Linked DNA regions of Homo sapiens: all the other regions are linked to region 2. Evidence: promoter capture Hi-C in 16 types of primary human blood cells and fetal thymus (Javierre and others, 2016). All regions are on one chromosome and are shown on one strand. Each heading gives the region's core, a stretch centred on a gene start or on the middle of the fragment in contact. The rest is flanking DNA. Distances are from core to core; before and after follow the strand shown. Region 1 overlaps ADGB (androglobin). Region 2 holds the start of ADGB (androglobin). Region 3 overlaps ADGB (androglobin).

The links. Contacts are between HindIII fragments. The CHiCAGO score rates a contact against its expected background, and 5 or more counts as called.
Region 1: a contact is called between a fragment that was not itself captured here and the fragment with the promoter of ADGB in region 2, in 1 of 17 cell types (monocytes). The highest score is 5.9, in monocytes.
Region 3: a contact is called between a fragment that was not itself captured here and the fragment with the promoter of ADGB in region 2, in 1 of 17 cell types (monocytes). The highest score is 5.3, in monocytes.

The regions. Positions count from the first base shown.
Region 1 is chr6:146,681,108-146,684,469 of GRCh38, forward strand. All of the region lies in intron 9 of ADGB (androglobin), which reads left to right. Among named protein-coding and RNA genes, the nearest start is that of ADGB, 84 kb to the left of the region's middle. The HindIII fragment of the contact is 1,512 bases long and covers 1,250-2,761 here.
Region 2 is chr6:146,597,200-146,600,241 of GRCh38, forward strand. ADGB (androglobin) reads left to right here and starts at 1,773. Exons shown (of 36, transcript NM_024694.4): 1 at 1,773-1,915. The coding sequence starts at 1,842. ADGB-DT (ADGB divergent transcript) reads right to left here and starts at 1,732. Exons shown (of 3, transcript NR_125860.1): 1 at 1,634-1,732; 2 at 871-972. RefSeq lists a silencer at 1,574-1,868. The HindIII fragment of the contact is 3,644 bases long and covers 1-3,042 here.
Region 3 is chr6:146,702,497-146,705,816 of GRCh38, forward strand. The region is part of intron 13 of ADGB (androglobin); the gene reads left to right. Among named protein-coding and RNA genes, the nearest start is that of ADGB, 110 kb to the left of the region's middle. The HindIII fragment of the contact is 2,666 bases long and covers 208-2,873 here.

The sequences.
Region 1 (3,362 bases), core at 756-3,255, 84 kb after region 2:
TGGATATTTGTCCTCGCCCAAACTTCATGTTGAATTGTAATCCCCAGTGCTGGAGGTGGAGCCTGGTGGGAGTGGACCTGAAGGCAGATCCCTCATGGCTTGGTGCTGTCTTCATGACAGTAAGTTCTTGCAAGATCTGGTCGTTTAAAACTGTGTAACATCTCTCCCTACTCTCTTGCTTGCTCCCATTCTCACCATGTGAGACATCTGCTCCCTCTTTTGCCTTCTGCCATGAGTAAAAGCCCCCTGAGGCCTCCCCAGAAACAGATACCAGATCTAGGCTTCCTGTACACCCTGCAGAACCATGAGCCAATTAAACCTCTTTTCTTTATAAATTATCCAGTCTCAGGTATCTCTTTATAGCCATGCAAGTATGGCCTAATACAGTCCAGTAAAACTTAAACAACACACCTGGTTGTGTCAAAGATTAAGACTGCAACCTCTTTGTTGCAGCTATCTTCAAAGTGGCCTCTATGAAGCAAAGAAGCAAAGAAGTAAATTAGCCTTGGGAATTACACTCAAGAAAGAATATGGACATGTGGAACTGATGAAAGAAATAGATTAGAAGCCCACTAATATATATTATTTTAAAACTTGTATTAAGAAATTATGGACTTGGTATAAAAAGTCTTTTACTTTTCAGCTTTGCATCAAATATTGGACCTGCAAACATTGTCTGGTAGGAAGTGGGCCGGAACACATTCGAGTCATTATCCTCTTTAGATATTGCCACATAGAATCATAGACAATAAAAAATTGCCAGAAAGACCAGGGACTACTTTACACTTCACACTTCTTAATTGTGTAGTGGACATGTTACTTAACCTATCCGTAACTCAGTTTACTTGCCTGAAAAATACTGTTAAAAATAGAATTTATTTCATAGGGTTTATGTGAACTGACTCATATGAAATACCTAGGCCTTAGCACAGAGTAGGCATTCACTGAAAGTTAGCTATTCTAAATTAACTAAATATCACATCTGAAAAAAATCATATATAATCTTTAACAAATACTTCTTATGGATTTATAGTAATTTGGGGTTCATCTCACTGGGACTCAAAATTTCAGGCTGAAATTTTTATAGGTTCAGACAGTAAATGTCTAACATAAAATGAAATCAATGATAAAAGTGGTATTTAAGTAATCTTACGTATTTTATAGCAGTCTTCTGAAATATGCTTATAGAAAGCAAAAAAAGCTGTATCACATGTAAAATAAAACATTTAAATCATACAAATGTAGCAAAAGCTTCTTTTGAGCAATAAAATACATATAATTAGTATGGCAGTTGTAGGCCATATAAGACTCATAATTACTGTACAAAATATTTTAAGGCAGTTTTAGAGACTAGGATGTTAAATTTCATTTCATCATTCAAGAGTATATTTTTTCTTAAATTTCTTTCTCAATTATTAAGCATTATTATATGCAGCTGTGCTAATTCAATACAAAGTTACTCCAACAACTGGAAAGATAAGGAAATTTCATGGTCTGTACCATTCATAGTTCACTGAAAGAAATTATAGAGCCCCTAGATTTAAACATTTGCCTTTAAGATATTCTAAAAGCAGTTTTATTGATATATAATAAAATCAAAATGCATTATGGGTGTTCCAATATTGCAGAATCACACAACATATTTACAGAGAGATAATAGAACAAATAGGAATTATCTAAGGCCCTTTAGACCCTTTACAAATAATTCTTATATTTTCTTGGCTAATAAACTTTTTTGAAAATCTTATGAAAATTTTGAACCTTCTCTCTTTTTTTTCCAAATCCTTTGTAGTCTTGGTTGAATGTGTCTTCTGGAGTCCATGTGCTAGAATTTTGATCCCCAATGCAACCATATTGGGAGGTGGGGCCTAATGAGAGGTAATTAGGCCATGAGGACAGAGGGAATGGATTAATGCCATTATCATGGGAGTGGTTAGGTATCCCAGGTGTGGGTTTGTTATAAAAGGGTGAGTTTGGCTATGGGATGACATGCTTATTTGGCCAGGGGATGACACAGCAAAAAGTTCCTCACCAGGCGCCAGCACCTTGATCTTGGACTTCCCAGCTTCCAGAACTGTGGGGAAATAAACTTCTGTTCTTTAAAAGTTACCCAGTCTCAGGTATTTCATTTTAGCAGTACAAAACAGACTAAAGCAGTTAGTGTGCACACAGATCTGCAGTGTTACATAATAGTTCACTGAGTTCTGGGCCCCTGAATCTCATTTATAAGATGTATAAAACTTAGTTTGAAAATCCCTATTTAATAGCACATTCCTATCCAGCTTTTACAGATTGATATTTAGTTAATAGCACCAGTATAGTGATACCAATATTTATAATCAGCTTCTAGTTTAATTAATCTGTGCCCATGCTATACCACTTATTAAATATTTAAAACTTCACCCTTAACTAAACACTTGTGTTATTTTTTAATATTTCAACATTACATATTACAATCCCATGTAAAATGTGTGATTATCCTAAAATTTGGAGCAAATTTTTTTGTCATCAACATCATTTCTATAATATGTCAAGACCACATTCTTTACTCCAAGTTTCTAAAGTTATTGTTTTCTAAGACCTCACCTGGAATTCCCAGGTTTCCATATATTTTATTACATAATGTTATAAAGTAAGTGAGAACTTTTTTCAAAATACTTGTATCACAAACTTTATTTTTAATATCATAAGGAAAATAAAAGTTCAAAAGACTTATTAAAGATCAAGGACAAAGTACTTAATGTGATAATATTAAATATTAAGCTTTAGAAAATTTTAGGGAAGACATCAAAATTTCTAATGCATAATGTACAAATGTGGGATATAATGTGGACCAAAATACTTTTACACGTTATGATTTTTAAAACAAGATTTAGAAAAGAGCTAATGAAATAGATCAACCTGAACGAGCCATGGGGTGCCCAGACATTTGGTCAAACATTATGTAAGGTGTGTGTTTAACATCTGGAAACTCAGCTGACTTTTTGTAAAGAAGCCCAATCTTGCTCAGTAGCCAGGCTCAGAGAGGAACCCTCACTCTTCTTCCCTCCACCTCTCATGCTTCATACTTTCCTAAGGTGTAGACAGCCAACTGCTTAATCTTGAACCTGGAAAGTACATTTAATCTTATCTTCTTCCTTGAGCAGAAAGTTCTGAAGATAGATTAAAAAAACTGATTTTTAAAATTTTATCCATTTTAATATTTAGCAGTCATCACTGTCAGGAACTTCCTCTCCATAACTGGCCTTCAACTCTCAGCTGACACCTAAAGGCATTTCACAATCTTTCTTTTGATTAGAGGACTTATTGGAGGGCTTCAATTAGATTGATCAGTGAGAAAAGTAACTGGACTGTAAATTACT
Region 2 (3,042 bases), core at 523-3,022:
GTCTTCGCCTGGAGTTATTTGTCCATAAAATACCGGTGGGATGTAGATCTTTTGATTTCTAAGGCTTATCTTCCCTAATTCTTTTGGCATCTTGCAGCCATTAACAATGGCTGCAGGATAGCCCTTGTTCAAGAAGAAACTCACCTCTCTGTGGGGTTGGCTGCTTAAAGTTGTGCTGTTTTCAGCCAAGAGTCTTTGTATATACTTATAGCTATAAATTTGATTACTCTGACAAAATTTGGTAGTAAATAATTTTTCTCACCATTTAGTCCTCTACTTTCATTCAAGAGAGTTCTCTGGAAATTTGAATTATGGTATAAACAAAGCAGAATCTTCATGATGTGTTCATTGTCTTTACATATATAGGAGATGTTTGCAGGGCAGTCTTGTAGTCATAATATTAACACTGCTGACTTGGAATTTATTTATTTTGCATATAGAAATACAACGAAGGGGCTGTCTGTCATCTAGGTAACCCCCAGTAGTAATCCAATAGTAATAAGATTGGGATAGTCTGACAAACCATAGGCTATGCTGAGTGGAGAGCCCTGAGCATTCATTTGTCAGAGAAGTTGAAAGATTTTCTCTGCAGGAAGCTGCCTCTTGCCTGCACAGGTGGAACTGTGAGCATGTGCCCAGTCCCATGAGTGGAGGGGATTTCTTTTATTTAAAGATACTTAACTATTTCTAGGCTCATGAAAGACACCAACCAGTAGTAGTGGTCCTAGGCCTAAGGGCTGTGTGTCAGATATCTCTGAAGTGAGGTTATATTGAACCAACACAATATTTTGTTTTGTTTTGATAAATTTGCAAGCTCTTGCAGTCTAAGCATGTCTCAGTTAAGCATAGTATCCACTACTCTGTATTTACCTGGCCAACTTCATTCATTCACGCTGTCTGCTGCTCCTCGAAACCAGGTGGTCTGTCATCTCTGAAAGAGTGGCTCCTATTTGCTGCGCTTTGCATCTTATCCTCAAAACAGAACTGTGAGTTAGGTATAACTCCTATTTATAAGTGAGTAATAGGCATCTCCTATTTATAAGTGAGTAAACTGAGACTCAAAGGGAAAAACTAGCCCAAGGCAAGATAACTAACAAATCACCACTGATGACTGAGCCTTAAGCCTGCGCCCTAATAAGTTTCATTTTACTTGGTTCTGTCTGTGTCATCTGGCCCCTGGACCTTTTCTGGAAAGTCTGCAAAGGACCACCTGAGCCCATGACTTGGACTCACTCTTTCATTCGAACAACAAGACACCTTATTGGTTTTATTACAGATATCATCACCTAGCCCTCAGCGACTCAAGGTGTCATTATTTTGCCTTCCTTACACCCACTGTGTTAATTTCTGGACCCCAGGTTTTCAAGCCATTGACAATTTCAGCGTGTCTGTAATGTCTCCTTAGTAATTATTGAAGGTACTTGTTATATTTAGCCAAGAGAATAACTGGGGTGGTACTAGGATAACATCTACGTTCAAATAGTTGGATATTCAAGAGTCGATATATGTCTATGGTTCCGAAGGGCAAAGCCAGGCAGTGTAGGTCCTGCAGAACTCCAATTAATCAGGGCTGCCCAGTAATCCTAATGCCAAACCCGTGCCCCAGAACCTCGATTTCTCCCCAGACACCAACTCCAAGTTCCTCCACGGGGATGTGGGATTTCAGTTTATGCTCTTGCGTCCCTCTGCAGCCACAGGCCGCAGAGCCCGCCCCCAGGGCCCCGCCCCCGCTCTCCGGGCGCTGGACGCGGGACGCCGTCTCCTGGCAACGCAGACGCGGAGCCGAGCGCGCCCGCAGGCTCTTTGCTCAGAGCTCAGCCCTACATAGATCGGCTTCTGCCATGGCCTCCAAACAAACCAAAAAGAAAGAGGTGCATCGTATCAACTCGGCGCACGGATCGGATAAATCGAAAGAGTAAGGGACCTCTGCCTGTCCGTCCCTCCCCTGGCCTAGCCCCTCGACCTCACCACTAGTTCTGGGGCTGCCTCCCTGCAGCAAACTGTGCCAGGGCAGAAGTTTAGTGGCCTCCTCGCAGCTTGTCTTCTCTGGTAAACCAGATCCTGGAGGTGCTCGCTCTCATCCTTCTCTCTTGCTTGTCTTGACTCACTTCCTTTCCCAGAGCCCCTGATTTTCTTGCTTTGGGTGTTCAGCTCCCATGGGTGAATCTGCCACCCCTCCTCTTCTTCATAGCCCTCTCAGGCAGTTAGAAAGGCCATAGCTTTCCTAAGAAAGAGGCATATCTCAAATACTTCTGGTTAAAGCCACATCTTCATGGCCCCGGAAATGATACAGACAGCGAGTGACAGACAGACATGGACACATTTCACCTTAATGGTGATTTTCTAGTTTGCATCTGCCCAGTCCAACGACTACGATCTTTAATCAGATATAGTCAGACGTAAAGTGGCTTCTAAACCTTAAAACATTATAAATGTATAGTTCATGTTACTAACATTTACTCTGAGAAAGTAAACAGACCCTCGCTCATGGAATTTTTATGGTGCCTTTGTCCTGGGCTGGTGTTAGGTGTTGTGTCTTAGGATGTACTTCCCCATGATTATTATTTTCTGTGGTCTGTTTCCCTAGGGATATCCAGTTATCCACAGCATAGGATTGGGGCTGTTTGAACTTACACCATTTCTAATGTTCATTCCCACTGTGAGAGAATCCCAGCTGCCCGCCCTGCTTCAGTGGGATCATTCATGTTCTTCATGCTCTGCCTGATGGGGAGGGCGATGCAATCAATCATTTCAAATTGAATTCTTACATCCTTGATGCCTGTTTCTCCATTTCCTTCCCTGGCTGAAGAATTCCACATTGGACTGATCCCTATGATTCACTGATCCCTAGGATTTAAACTCTTTTTCTTTGTGAATTCTTCTCCCAGACTCATTCCCATGTCTGTGAATCTCTAGTCCCTTAGTTCTAACCTCTCTCATAAGCAGGTTTCCAGTTACCCGGCAGATAATCCATTCCTTTTACTAGCTTAAATTTTAGATATTACATATATAAGTAATATTACATATATAATTTTATATAAA
Region 3 (3,320 bases), core at 291-2,790, 110 kb after region 2:
CCTCCATTTATGTACCTCTCTATCCCATTTTCACCATTCTGCCCTCCGTAGGAAACTTTCAGGATTTTTTAATGTAAATGCAAAGAAACACACACACAATATTTCACAACTTCCTTTTTTTCTACTCAAAATTAAATAATCTTAAAAATACTTAATATATGCTGGAGATAATTCCAATCTACACCTAAAGAGTATCTTCATTCTTAAAGCTTCATAATTTTTTATTATGTAAATGAACTGTAGTTTATTTCTATCAATCTCTATAGATGAAATCTTGGGTTGATTTTAATCTTTTGCTATTATAAATACTACTGCTATGAATGAATTTGTACATGTAGTTGGATTGTTTGGCCAACAAATACAATTCTATTGGAATTTTAAAATAATTATTGCTAAATATACACGATAAGATTACACCCAGGTTGTATGAATATTTCCTTATAGCCACATGGAGTGTGTAGGGATTTTTTAAAAATTTTGCCAATCAGATTGGTAAGAAAAAGTAGTTCATTTTGCTTTTCCATTGAACTGGTTGTTATTGTGACTGAACAGCTTTGTATACATTTACTGCCATTTCTGTTTGTGCTGCTGTGCAATGCCTGCTTATGTCTTTTGCCTAATTTCCATTTGGGTTGTATGTTCCTATTTTACCAATTCATAGATGTTCTTTGTGAAATATGGAGACTTATTCTTTATTAGATATGTATTTCATATGTTCTAAGTTTATCTTTTCAATCTTGTCTTTTTAAAATTTATTTTTAATCGATAAAAAATATATGCATTTATAGTGTAAAACATGATGTTTTGAAATATATATATAGCTGAATAACTAAATTGAGCTGATTAATATATGTATTACTTCACGTTCCTTTCATTTTTTGTTGTGAGAACACTAAAATCTTCTGTCTTATCAATTTTCAAGAATACATTAACTATAGACCCCGTGTTGCAAATCAGATCTCTTGAATTTATCTCTACTAACTGAAACTTTGTATCCTTTGACCAGTATTTTCCCAATCACCCACATCTAGCCCCTGGTAACTACCATTCTACTTAGTATCTATTTTTCTGTGTGTGGCTTATTTAACTTCACATAAGGTCCTCCAGGTTTATCCTAGTTATTGCAAATGATAAAGTTTCCTTCTTTTTAAAGGCTGAATAGTATTCTATTTTGTATATATACCATATTTTCCTTATCCATTCATCTGTGGATGGACAATTAGTTTGATTTCATATTTTGGCTTTGTGAATAATGCTATAATGAAGATGGGAAGGCAGGTATCTCTTTCTTCTTTGACACACTGATTTCATTTCCTTTGGATACACACTCAGAAGGAGGATTGCTGGATCACATGATTGCCCTATTTTTAGTTTTTTTTTTTCAACCTCCATACTGTTTTCTACAGTGGCTGCACCATTCTACCTTCTCACCAGCAATATACAAGGTTTCCCTTATTTCCACATTCTTACTAACACTTATTTTTGTATTCTCGATAACAGCCATTTTAACAGGTGTGAAGTGATATCTCACTGTGGTCTTAATTTATGTTCCTCTGATGATTAGTGATGTTGAGCATTTTTTAAAACACATACGTTGGCCATTTGTATGTCTTCTCCTGAGAAATGCCTATTCAGATTCTTCGCTCATTTTTCAATTGGGTTGTTTCCTTGATGATGAGTTGTTTGAGTTCCTTATATGTTTTGAATATTAACCTCTTATCAGATGTATGATTTACAAATATTTTCTCCCATTCTATAGATTGTCTCCTTATAATTGCTTCCTTTTCTGTGCAAAAAAAAAAAAATTTAGTTTGATGTAATTCCTTCTGTCTGTTTGCAATTGTTGCCTGTGCTTTAGGGATTATTTCTTAAAACTTGTTGCCCAGGCCAAGTTCTTGGAGCTTATCCCTTATGTTTTCTTCTAATAGTTTCATACATTCAGCATACATTCAGGTCTTAAAGTTAAGTTCTTAATGCATTTTGAGTTAATTTTTGTATATGGTATGAGGTGACATTCCTCTTTTGTAAATGGATATCCCAAAATCATTTACTGAAGAGACTCTCCTTTCTTCCATTGTGTGTTCTTGTCAATCTTTTTCGACCATAATAGTTTGAATTTATTTTTGACTCTCTACTCTGTTCCATTGGTCTATTTTTATGGTGATATATGCTGTTTGGGTTACTATAGCTTTGTAGTGTATTTTGAAGTCAGGTAGTGTGATGCCTCCTGCTTTGTTCTTTTGCTTTAGCTATTTAGGGTCTTTTGTGGTTTCACATGGATTTTAGGATGTTTTTAATATATCTGTCTAAAATCTCATCAGAATGTTGGTAGATTACATTGAATCTGTACATTGCTTTGGCTAGTATGTGAAAAATCTCATCAGAATGTTGATAGATTACATTGAATCTGTACATTGCTTTGGCTAGTACAGCCATTTTAACAATATGAATTCTTTCAGTTCATGAACATGGGACATCTTTCCATTTATTTGAGTCTTATTTTATTTCATCAATGTTTTATTTTATAGTATTCAGAATATAGGTACCTCCTTAGTTCAATTTATTCCTAAATATGTTTTGGTAGCTATTGTAAATGGAATTATTTTACTGATTTCTATTTTTGTTTTTTGTATGTTGATTTTGTATCCTGAAACTTTATTGAGTTTATATATTAGATCTAACAGGATTTTTAATGGGGTTTTAAGGGGTTCTATATATGATTGTATTATCTGAAAAGAGGAAAAATTTAGCTTCTTTCTTTCCAATTTGAGTGCCTTTTCTTTATTTTGCCTAATTGCTCTAGCTAGGACTTTAGGTGATATGTTGAATAGAAGTGGTTATTTTCCTTGTCTTACTCCTGATCTTAGAAGTAAAGCTTTCAACTTTTCACTGTTGAGTATGTTAGCTATGAGTTTGTCATATATGGCCTTTGTTGTGTTGAAGTACATTCTTTATATTAGTTGTAAGTTGAGAGGTTTTTTAATCATAAAAGGATGTTGAATTTTGTGAAATGCTGTTTTTCCATCTATTCACATGATTGCATGGTTTTTATCTTTTATTCTTTTAATGTGGTATATCATACTTGTAGATTTGCATATGTCAAACCATCCTTGCATCTCTGGGAAAACTCCCACTTAATCATGGTAAATGATCTTTTTAATGTGCTGTTGAATTATGTTTACTAGTATTTTGTTAAGGATTTTTGCATGTATGTTCATCAGCGATATTGACCTAAGGTTTATTTTCTTATAGTGTCCTTGTCTGGCTTTGGTATTAAGATAATGCTTGCCCTGTATAATTAGTTTGAAATTATTCTCTCT